Linked DNA regions of Homo sapiens: all the other regions are linked to region 3. The links are contacts of gene promoters, found by promoter capture Hi-C in blood cells and fetal thymus (Javierre and others, 2016). All regions are on one chromosome and are shown on one strand. The core of a region is centred on a gene start or on the middle of the fragment in contact, and the rest is flanking DNA. Distances in the headings are between cores, read along the strand shown. Region 1 overlaps ORC4 (origin recognition complex subunit 4). Region 2 overlaps ORC4 (origin recognition complex subunit 4). Region 3 holds the start of KIF5C (kinesin family member 5C). Region 4 overlaps ORC4 (origin recognition complex subunit 4).

Region 1 (2,700 bases), core at 200-2,699, 870 kb before region 3:
AAGGACATTAACAAGCAACAAGAAATCATCTGAAGGTATAAAACTCACTGGTGAAAGTAAGTGCACAGATAAATACAGAATACTCTAACCGCTCATATCTTTAGCAGGAAGATTAAAAGACAAACCTATATTGTTAGAAGAGTTCTAAACTCTACCTTATCTAGAGAACCTTCTTCTTTTAGAAAATCAAGCAAAACAACTAAGCCAAGACATGTTAAGAAAAGTTTGAAAAGAAAGCTGTAAGGAAATACAAGGGGAGGGATTGTTAGATATGAGTTCTAAATTTCTTTTCAAAGAATTAGTGTGTCAGTATGTTCAATTCTTTGCCTTCTAGTTTTAAACTTAACTTCCTCGTAAAGCAACCTTTTTCGATTACCTACTCCACCCTGACTCATTCTGATCATCTGCTCCACCCAACATTCCAATCACCTGCTCCACCCTAACTCATTCCAATTACCTGCTACCTGCTCTGCCCTGACTCCCGCCAAAGCATTCACCCTGTCATTCTCTTTAAATTAGCCAATTGGAATTAGTTTAGCCCGTGCGGTCTAACCCCAGCCAATAGGGGAACGACAGAGCAGCAGGGGCCACATACGTCAGGGATTAGAACCCCTTCCCATCCCTTGTCCAAATGTGCGCTCACCATTGTTCCATCTGTAAGGGTGCACCCTTCTATATAGAAGTAGCTTGCCTTGCTGAATATTAAAAAGAAAATTTTGTATTCGAGTGCTATTTCTTTTGCAGCATCGAAACTTTCTATATAACACTATCAAAAAAAAACTACTCCAAAACTTAAAATATAAAAATATATAGAGACAAAAAGTCAAAAAGTGAAGGGATGGAGTAGAAGTGTACAGGTTTTTAGTTTTTTCTGTGCGTGTATTTTTTCTTTTCTTTGCAATCAGAGTTGTCATCAGTTGCAAATAATTGGCTATAAATTGTTATTTGCTAACCTCATAGTAACCACAAAACAAAAACCTCTAATAGGTGCACAAAAAAATAAAAAGCAAGAAATTAAAACATACTACCAAAAAATAATTATCACAAAGGAAAACAAGGAAAAAAATGGGGGAAAAGCCCTAGAAAATAACCAGAACAACAATAAAAAGGCAGTAGTAAGTCCTTACCTATCAATAATAATACTGAATGTGAATGGACTAAATTCTTCACTATAAAAACATAGACTAACAACAAAAAGACGGAAAAAGATACTGCACCAAACAGAAACCCAAAAAGAGCCCAAGTAGCTTTGTATCTATTTTTAGATAAAATAGATTTCAACATAAAAACTATGAAGAAAGAAAAAAAGGTTATCATATAATACAAAAGGTTTTAATTCAGCAAGAGGACATAAAAATTATAAATACATATCTATCCAACACAGAAGCATCTAGATATATAGAGTCAAGTGTATTAGAGTTAAGGAGACAGAACCCAATACAGTAATGACTTGGGACTTCAACAGCCCACTTTCACCATTGGACAGATCATCTAGACAGAAAGAAACAATGAATTTAATCTGCACTATAGATTAAATGGACCTAATAGACATTTACAGAAGCTGTCATCCAACAGCCGCAGAATACATTCTTCTCCTTAGCACATGGAACATTTCTCAAGGATGGATCCTAAATTCTCCAATCAAAAGACACAGAAGAGCTGAAGGGCTAAACAAAACAAGGCCCTACTACCTGCTACATATAAGAAACCCACTTCATTTATAAAAACATAGATAGACCAAAAGATGGAAAGAGACATTGCATGCAAACAGAAATCCAAAAAGAGCACCATCATGTTAGGCCGCAAAACAAGTCTGATAAAAAGTATATTTTCTAACCACAATGGAATAAAAGTAGAAATAAATAACAAGTGGAACTTTGGAAACTATACAAACATATAAGAATTAAACAATACGTGCCTGAACAACCAATGAAGTAATTAAGGAAATTAAAAAATGTCTTGAAACAAATGAAAATGGAAACACAACCTACTAAAACTTATGAGATACAGTTAAAGCTAACACTAAAGGGAATGTTTATAGCAATAAATGTGCAAATCAAAAAGTAGAAAACCAAGAAATAAACAACCTAGTAATGCATCTTAAAGAACTAGAAAAGCAAGAGCATGCCAAGCCCCAAATTAAGAAGAGAAATAATAAAGAAAACAAGAAAATAAATAATAAAAAACAGAAATAAAATTGAGACAAAAAAATAGAAAAGATCAATGAAATGAAAAGGGTTGTTTGGAAAGACAGACAAAATCAATGAACCTTTACCCAGACTAAGAAAAGAAAAAAAAGAAGATCCAAATAAAATCAGAGACAAAAAAGGAGACATTACAATTGATATCACAAAAATTCAAAGGATCATTGGAGACCATTTGAACAACTGCATGCCAATAAATTGTAAAACCTAGAAGAAACGAATAAATTCCTAGGCACATACAGCCTAAGAAGAATGAAACATTAAGAAAACCAAAATCGAAATAGACCCATAATAAGTTTCAAGATAGAAACAATAATAAAAAGTCCCCCATCACAGAAAAGGCCAGGACTTCATGGCTTCACTGAGTTCTACCAAACATTTAAAGAAGAACTAACATCAATCCTACTCAAATCATTCTCCAAAATCAAGGAGGATCTCCAAATTCATTTTATGAGGCCAGATTTATTCTTTTTTTTTTTTTTTTTTTTTTTGAGAC
Region 2 (2,815 bases), core at 79-2,578, 930 kb before region 3:
CGTACTTGAATAAGGGAAACTACTACACAGTCATACTAGTGAAATGAACAAAATGCAGCACAAAAACAGAAGTGCATGAGTTACTGTACCTAGGGATACAAGGTAAAGTATTACAAAGAATGCTTAAACTGGATGAGACAAGAGATTTAAAAAAGAAGGAAGAACATTCCAGTTACAGGGAACAGCATGAGTAGCAGGAAAATTATCACATTGGCAGAAAATGAGTAGTCACGTACTGGAGTTTCAATTACTGGCAAAGTGAATGTACAAAAAGAAAAGGCAGAAAAACCTAACTGGAGGTAGCTGTCCAGACAAGAGGTAAAGTGGGTCGGAATTATCTGAGTGTTATGAAGAAAAAAGAATTAAGACGTTTATAGGAGTACATCTGGTAGAGAATTAACTGGTAGCAGAAGAGAAGGAAGGGTTTGAAAGGTAGAAGATAAAAATCAAACATGATCTATGGGAAACAAAATGGCCTGTGAAAAGTGAAATGTGGTCAAAAAATGAATCTTGGATTATTAATATTTAAGTAGTAGGTGGGAAAAGAGAAAAACTAAGAAATTAAGAAAGATACCAAAGACTGGAAGAGAATCTAAGACAGAGTAGAGATCTAGAAAACAAGGGAACAAAGTTTTAAGAGAGAAGTGAGGTTCAACAATATAAACTACTTTGTAAAAAGATATATTTGAGAAGAGGCTAATGGCTTTAGAAATTCAAAGATCACCACAGCCCTTTGAGAAAGTACCATCTAAAGAGGCAAGTGACTGCAGTAATTAGGGTTGAATGGAAGGTGAGGAACACTGGCATTGAAGAAAAGATTAGATGAAAAAAGAGTAAATTCAGAAGTAGCAGAGCCAAGAAAGGCCTGGAAAAGATTGTCATAATTTTTCAAAAATCATCTGCATGGAATAAGGATTCTTTTAAAAAAAAAAAAAAGCCCAGAAAACTAAGCATTTCTGTATTTTCTAGAGCTGTAATTATATGTCTTTACTTTGTCCACTCTAAGAAGACCAGATTCAGAAGTAAGTTCTAGTCTACTGGAATAAAATTTTATACTCTCAGGAAATATATTATCTTAATTATAGTTCCCACTCCCTTGCTATTGTTTCTAGTCTTCTCTTTGTATTTTAAAGGACTTCTGGTTACTATATCTTTTTCTATCACAAACACGGTAGAATATCCTTGGAAGTACACAGGGTGAACATAAAAAAAACAAAGTAATACCTTTTGGAAATTAAAAAAAAATTTGTTTAGCTTTTCCAGTTTTAAAATTGCAATATGGAAGATATGTGGCTAAATATCACAGGCAAACTATAGTCTTGGTTTCTGTAATCTGTAAGTTGTAAAAGTTGATGTGGTAAAATCGGAGCACTTAGGAAAACTAAAGAAAATCACCTGGGACAAAATTGAAGAAATTTTCTCTGCAAGAATCAATTATTTTTAAAACCTGCATTTGCCTCTCTTTGACATGATGCTTCAAAGGTTAATCTTCTATACTCCACCTTCCTACTTTATCTCTTTATTTTTTAGTGGTTTGACTCCAATTCCCCCTCTTTCTAAAAGCTATCGCCTTCTTGCTTCTATAATTACTTATTCTGCTTTTTAAAATGCCTACCTTATCTACATGAGCCATTTAAACAAAAAAAATTGTCTAACCTCGTTCATTATATTTTTAATTCCATCTTGATTCAAACACTATACTCTATTTGAGGATAAGGCTATTATCAACAACCACATAAGCTACAGTACTTTGGGAGATTTCATTTGAGGAGAATAAGGTATGATTCTTTTAAATGTTCTTTTCAAAGGATCCCTCTTATACTGCCATGCTAAGATAGAGTCTACTTTGCTTATTTGACTCATTTGAAGTAGGGCTAAAACAAACCTTCAAATTAGGCAGGATATCAAGGTTCAATCTTATCCTGAAGATATTTCTTGGATGAGATTCCATGTGTGACCTGTTATCTGTATCACTGCTATTGGCTTAATCCTGCCATTCAAAATAGCTTCCTGGATAATCGGCACTAAGAGAAAGAATAGCTCCCTTAATGCAGCTACCACCCTACTCCACAAGGCAGGGACTCTGACCATGGTGCTGACAGATTTTTCAAGTGAAGCTCATTTTATTCACATACCAAAGACAGGCACAAGATGATCAGGATAGGGGAAGAAAATATTAGAACTCAGAGACACAAACACCAGTGATGCTGGTTCTACTTAATGAAACTGACTATTAAGACTATCAAAATGATGACAAGACAGTGCTCACATGCAGGGGATTTAAGGTCTGCAACAAAAGTCCAGAAAGTAGATTAGTTATGCTACTAACACATGGTTATCATTTTCTAAGTCACGCAGTTATACTTCTTCACCAGTAACTCCCAGCATCCTCTTTATTTATAGACTCAATTTGAGATGCTCAGAATGCAACACAGTTGGGAAGGAAAGTGGATGAAAAATGGCACAGTGCAACCTAGACCATGTAGTTACCTTAAGAAGATTAAGTGTGAGCAGGTATGGAAAAAAAAAAGCCCATGGAAAGTACAGACATTTAAATACTATGAAAGACTACATTTGAATCTCTAAAACAGCCAGAAAAACATACTGGTGGAATAAGACAATCAGTTCAGGAGTTGTAGAAGATGAAAGTCTGTGAGGCACTGAAAAGTAGATCTAAAAGCTGAAGATCCAGAGGTCTGGTTCACACCAGACCCCAGTAAAAGGGGACAATGTGGGAGTACCAACTACAAAGAAGGTGCTCCTATAGATGGAATCCTATAATTAGAAATAGTATCAAAGACACTTGGTCAGGTAA
Region 3 (2,700 bases), core at 124-2,623:
AAGGTTCTGGGCATCTTCTGGTGGGCTCAGGGAAACTGAGAATTGGATTGTCCTCTCTAGTATATTATGAAGTTGATCATTTAAGATGATGGGTCTCTGAGCCAGAGCCTGAGAATTACTTAATTTAAAAACAGATGAGAAGGTGGCACCTGGGTCTTTTTAATCTACTTCCACTGCACATGAGGAGATGAAATAGAACTGGTACTACTTACAAGGGTTTATAAAAGTTGATTTTAGTAGGTCTGTCCTCTCAGCTAGGCAGAGAACACTTGTATTTTCAGGTATTACCCGAATTTAAGCAACAGATGTGTTCCTAAAATTAACTAACTTATTTGTTTTATGATCATTTGTTCAGCACCCAATAACATCTAACTTTCAAGAGCTTATCCTATATACATGTCAGGCACCGTGCTAGGTGCTTTAAAAGCATCTGTCTTTTAATTCCCCCAGAAATCACAAGATGATATTATTCCAATGACAGAGATGAGGAAACTGAGTCTTAAGGAAATTAAGACTTCTTAATTTCCTCCGCTCTTAATTTCCTCCGCCTGTTGGTCATACATCTAATAAGTGGCTGAGGTGGGATTCACACTCATGCATTGCTTCTTCCTAGGGTAGAATCCTTATTCAGTATGCTGCCCACTATGTGCTAGATGCTACAGACACAAAGATATCAAGCAGATATCACCACCCAAGTGCAGTGCTAGAGACAGGCACAGCAGATTAGGGGAACATCAAGGAGGGCCACCAACTCTTTATAGGTGTTTAGTGAGCTGGGAAAGTCTGAGGAAGGAGGGTTGAGCTAGGTCTTAGAGGAAAAGGAAGTTCTGGAAAAATAGAGTGGACACTCAGTTGTTCTGCCAGCCCGGCACCATGTCTGGGAATACCATCCCTCTTCTTTTGGGAACCTTCCCACCAAGGGATTCCTCCATAATCTTACAAAATCCCTGATTCTGGTTGATTGGTTTAGCACTAGATGCCAACCTAAACCAAGGCCAATCAAACCCAAACTCTGAACAGACATCCATCCTTATCTAGTGGTAGAAGTTGAAGGATGAAACCCAGGGGCTATTGGGAGCTGTTTCCCAAGTGATTTTCTTTTGGGATCAGGATGATCCAGACCCAGTTATCTAGAGATTTTAACCGGAAATATTGGATATGACCTCCATCCGGTTCCGGCTTGGGCAGCCAGACCGGACTTGCAGGCTCTTGGAGGTCGCATCCTGTCCTTCCCCCGGCAGGTAGAGTGACTACAAGTCCCGGGATGCGCAGCGCTCGGAGTCGGGCGGGGGCCGGGCGGACCTCTACGGTGACGTCACCGTCCCGGGGCGGGCCAGGGGAGGGCGGGGCGGAGGGGCGGGTCTCAAGGCGGCAGAGCGCGCTGGTGCTGATGCAGGATGGCTGAGCGCGCAGGAGCCCGGGAGGTCTGAGCCGGGCGAGGCTCGCTCCCTGCGCATCGCCTCCTCCGCCCGCCGCGTGGTCGCGGGCAGGTGGGCCGGGGGGCGCTGGGCAGGGGCGGGGCAGGGCCAGGGCAGGCCGGTCTGCAGCCGGAGGGGCCGGAGCGGAGAAGCTGCCCACCTTCCCGGGCTCGGAGCGGCCGGGGCTGCTCAGCCGGCCGGGCTCGCGATGACCTGCTGAGAAGCGTCGTCGGAGGCTGCAGGAGGCGGCCTAGCTGTGGGCGGTGCAGCTCGCGGCCTCCTCCCTCGTCGTTCCCGGCCCCGGCCCCCCACCCATCCCCGTGCCCCCTCCCTACCGCCGGCCGAGATGGCGGATCCAGCCGAATGCAGCATCAAAGTGATGTGCCGGTTCCGGCCCCTCAACGAAGCGGAGATCCTCCGCGGGGACAAATTCATCCCCAAATTTAAAGGCGATGAGACCGTGGTGATCGGGGTAAGTGGCTGGGGCGTCTGCCTTCCCTGCTGCTCCGCGCCGCAGCTGGGCGCCCCGACGCCCCAGACGCAGCGGAGGTGTTTAGGCCGCCCCCTCGGACATTCCCGCGGGGCTGGCCTCTCGGGTGGACCTGACCAGAGACCCCTCGCCCCGCGCACTATGGTTCCCTCCCGGGCGGGTGGAGAGGCGGCCGGGAGCGGCGGGCCGGGCGGGGGTGGCGGGGGTGGGGATGGGGGGCGAAGACGGGCTCGGCGCCGCCATTGTTCGCCGGGTGGGGGCCCGGGTGGGCCCATTGTTCCCCACGCTCGCCTCGCCGCGTGGGTAGTGTGTTCGGGTGACCCTCAAGCCGGGTGCCCAGGCCCCCTTTAAAGTGTGAGCTCTGCAACCCGCAAATGCTTCTGGGCATCAATCAATTCGATTTACCAAACGCCTTGCCTCTTCTTCTCACGACCCTAGCAAAAAAGAAAGAAAAAGGGGTACAGGAAAATTTCTAGTCGCGTCTCGGAGCTCCCGCGGCAGTGTAGACGCGGCTCCCCGCGGTGTTACACCTGGCTCCGCGCGCGGAAGGCGGAGGGTTGGGGGAGTACTGGTGGCCTCGGTGTCCCCTGGAGGCCTGGTGTGTCTCCCGCTTCCTCTCACGCCTGGCTGCCCTGGATGTGGAGTCCCGGCTTGATCCCTCCCCTCTGGGATGACCTCCCTCCCATGTCTGCAGACCCTCTGATGCGCCTCACGCTGGGTGGAGAGGAGGCTGTGTCCACATCTGTGGGGCGAGGGGGCTCAGAGCGCAGTAGCCCCCTGTGCCAAGAGCAG
Region 4 (2,762 bases), core at 60-2,559, 900 kb before region 3:
GTAAAAGCTAGAATTCTGACTACCCAGACTTAATAAGGATAAAATTAAATTACAGTATAAAACACTAATATTAAAAAAAATATATGAACTGACAAAAAGGGCAGAGAACAATCATAACAACAAAATCTGTTGGTCCACATTTAATTTTGACAGAGTTTGGAAAATTTTGCTTCCAGATGATTGTTCTTACGACCTTGTGCTGGCATCTCGTTAAGGTCTCGTACTGATATCTCCCTAAGGTTAGAAAGAGTGATTCTTCCTAAATGCTAAAGGGAAAATTCAGGTTAAGAAGATAACTATTTCTCTGAACAGCTTTACAGGGTAAAATATCTTGAGATTAATGAAAATACATACTAACCTGTGAAAGGCACTCTGTGTGAATTAAGCTGTTACTCTTTGATTTACGACTGCTCATTTCAACAAATTCAAATCCTTTAAAAAAATTGGCATAAATATTATAAACGTAGTGACTTAAAGAGATTACTTAAGAATTTACTGTTCTAGAATTAAAATAAATACAAGTTTTTAAAAGTAAAAAATGCTCAAACCCTAAGACCTTCAAAATCTTCGATGGCTTCATTTTGTCTAAGTACAGGCTGATTCAACACTCTCATACCACACTTTAGGCACACTTTGTTTTACTGTGCTTTGCAGATGGTGCATTTTTTTTTTAAAGTAAACTGAAGGTTTGTAGCAACTCTGTGTCCAACAAGTCGATAGGCACCATTTTTCAAACACCATGTCCCCATTTTGTGTCTGTCAGCATTTTTTAGCAATAAGGTATTTTCAAATTAAGGTATGTACATTTTTTAGACATGCTACTACTGCACACTTAGTAGACTAGTATACTGTAAATATAAATTTTATATGCACTGAGAAAAGTTTTGGGTGATTCACTTTATTGTGATATTTGCTTCACTGCAATGGTCTGGAACTGAACCTACAATACCTCCAGGCCTGTATGTGGTTCTTACAGCTACTCCTCCCTTTCGATTAAATCTTCTATTCACCTTCCCTTTCTTCCTTTTTCTTTTTTTAACTTACATGCTTCCTTTATGATTCTCCCACCCATCCATCCCACAGGATCATCCCTTATAGAAAACCTTCCCTTTCTTGCTCCACTCACCAACAATACACAAATAATCATTACAGACTAGGTTAAATGCCTCTTCCTTAAACACTCATAAGTGCCTGTATTTTGCTTTATTATTGAATTATTTTAAACAAAATTGTCTGTTTAATTGCTACTGTTTCCAAATTGAGATTTTTTATATTCTAAGCATTGTAGCATAATGCCCAAAACAAAGTTGGCAATGAATAACTGGAATGAAAAAAAAATTAATGAAAAAATTATATTTTTTGTAAAATTCTCCTCAAGTGTACCATACTCATAGACAAATGACTAAAAGACCTTTGACTAAAAGACCTAATTTTCTTAGCACTGATTTCCTATAGGAATAAATTTTAACAGATAGACAGTAACAGCTTAAGCAGTGTTTAGGTATCAGGAATTGTTACAAATGCTTTGCATTTATCAACTCATTTAATCCTCAAAACTATCATGTGGAATAACTACTATTATAATCCTCTTTTAAGGTTAGAAGACACAGATAGGCTAGGTATGTTGACCAAAATCAAACAGTATATAAATGGAAGAGCCAGGATTTGGATCCAACCAAGTTAACCACTTTTTTAAAAAAGTGTATTCTGGTCTCATCTAATCTCCAGAAGGAACACAGCTTTGCTAACACCCTGAATTTAGCTCAGTGAAAGACATTTTGGAACTTTTTTACTGCCAGAACTCATAAAACTCAAAAAAAGCTGACTTATCATCAAATCACCAATGATTAACATTATAATAATGCGAGAATGACAGCAGCAAGATGAAATAGGAGGCCCTTCAGCTTGTGTCCCCAAATAGCAACAATAATTTCACAGCCACCCACGGACAAAATGGTCTTTGTGTTAGCGTTGAGATTCAGGCAGGCGTCTGTGAAACCCCAGTGGGGCCCAAGACCTGGAAAAGTCAATTGGAGGGCAGATCTTCATTCACGTGACAGATTCCCCAACTGTGGTCCAGGCTTCAGACTTGGAAAGGGCCCTGTCCTCCCGATAGGACCTTGTTACCAGGGGCTGTAGCAGGATATGAACCCTATCTGGTCCCTTGGCGGACTGGACTTTTTCTAGGACCTCGGTCTGTACAGTGGATGAAGATATGCAGAGAAAAGACCTGTTACCAGGTGTGTGGATGGTTTGGCTTTCTCTGGGAACCTGGGAGGGCTCCTACTGGATCACTGAGTAGATTCCTTAACAGGCAGTACTGCCCTAGTCCACAGCTGAGTGGGGCTGGAACTAAGCTACAGGGTTGCTTCAGGGCCTACAGTCAAGACTTAGGTCTTCAGGCCTAAGGTGTCACAAACCTGCATGTCTCCCTTCAGGTCCTTAAGTTAGCGGGCCTGCTGTATTGAGAGGGGCTGGAGCCACTTTTCAGGGGTGTTTCAGGGACTGATGAGGGACCTAGGTCAGGTGGCCTGTTTGCAGGGCTATGGACAGCCCCATCTCCCTCCAGGATGCTGGGTAGGCAGAACTGCTCTCTGACCACAGCTGAGAGGGGCTTATGCCAAGATTCAGGGTTGTTTCAGGACCTGCTGTGGGACTGAAATCTGCCTGCCTGTCCTGAGGACACAGAAGGATGTATCTCCTGACTACAGGAGGATTTCTGTGCAGGATTTCTGTAAGACTGTGGCTGAGTGGAGCTGAAT

What was found. Contacts are between HindIII fragments. The CHiCAGO score rates a contact against its expected background, and 5 or more counts as called.
Region 1: a contact is called between a fragment that was not itself captured here and the fragment with the promoter of KIF5C in region 3, in 1 of 17 cell types (activated CD4 T cells). The highest score is 5.0, in activated CD4 T cells.
Region 2: a contact is called between a fragment that was not itself captured here and the fragment with the promoter of KIF5C in region 3, in 1 of 17 cell types (total CD4 T cells). The highest score is 7.0, in total CD4 T cells.
Region 4: a contact is called between a fragment that was not itself captured here and the fragment with the promoter of KIF5C in region 3, in 1 of 17 cell types (total CD4 T cells). The highest score is 5.2, in total CD4 T cells.

What each region holds. Positions count from the first base shown.
Region 1 is chr2:148,008,177-148,010,876 of GRCh38, forward strand. The region is part of intron 1 of ORC4 (origin recognition complex subunit 4); the gene reads right to left. Among named protein-coding and RNA genes, the nearest start is that of ORC4, 11 kb to the right of the region's middle. RefSeq lists an enhancer at 1-967. The HindIII fragment of the contact is 5,987 bases long and covers 1-2,700 here.
Region 2 is chr2:147,943,776-147,946,590 of GRCh38, forward strand. All of the region lies in intron 9 of ORC4 (origin recognition complex subunit 4), which reads right to left. Among named protein-coding and RNA genes, the nearest start is that of ORC4, 76 kb to the right of the region's middle. The HindIII fragment of the contact is 5,454 bases long and covers 1-2,815 here.
Region 3 is chr2:148,873,854-148,876,553 of GRCh38, forward strand. It overlaps KIF5C (kinesin family member 5C), which reads left to right and starts at 1,374. Exons shown (of 26, transcript NM_004522.3): 1 at 1,374-1,890. The coding sequence starts at 1,765. It overlaps KIF5C-AS1 (KIF5C antisense RNA 1), which reads right to left. Exons shown (of 4, transcript XR_001739733.2): 4 at 1-2,342. RefSeq lists a silencer at 1,198-1,667 and enhancers at 2,040-2,618, 2,619-2,700. The HindIII fragment of the contact is 10,493 bases long and covers 1-2,700 here.
Region 4 is chr2:147,975,544-147,978,305 of GRCh38, forward strand. ORC4 (origin recognition complex subunit 4) reads right to left here. Exons shown (of 14, transcript NM_181741.4): 2 at 359-432. The coding sequence starts at 415. Among named protein-coding and RNA genes, the nearest start is that of ORC4, 44 kb to the right of the region's middle. The HindIII fragment of the contact is 3,279 bases long and covers 1-2,762 here.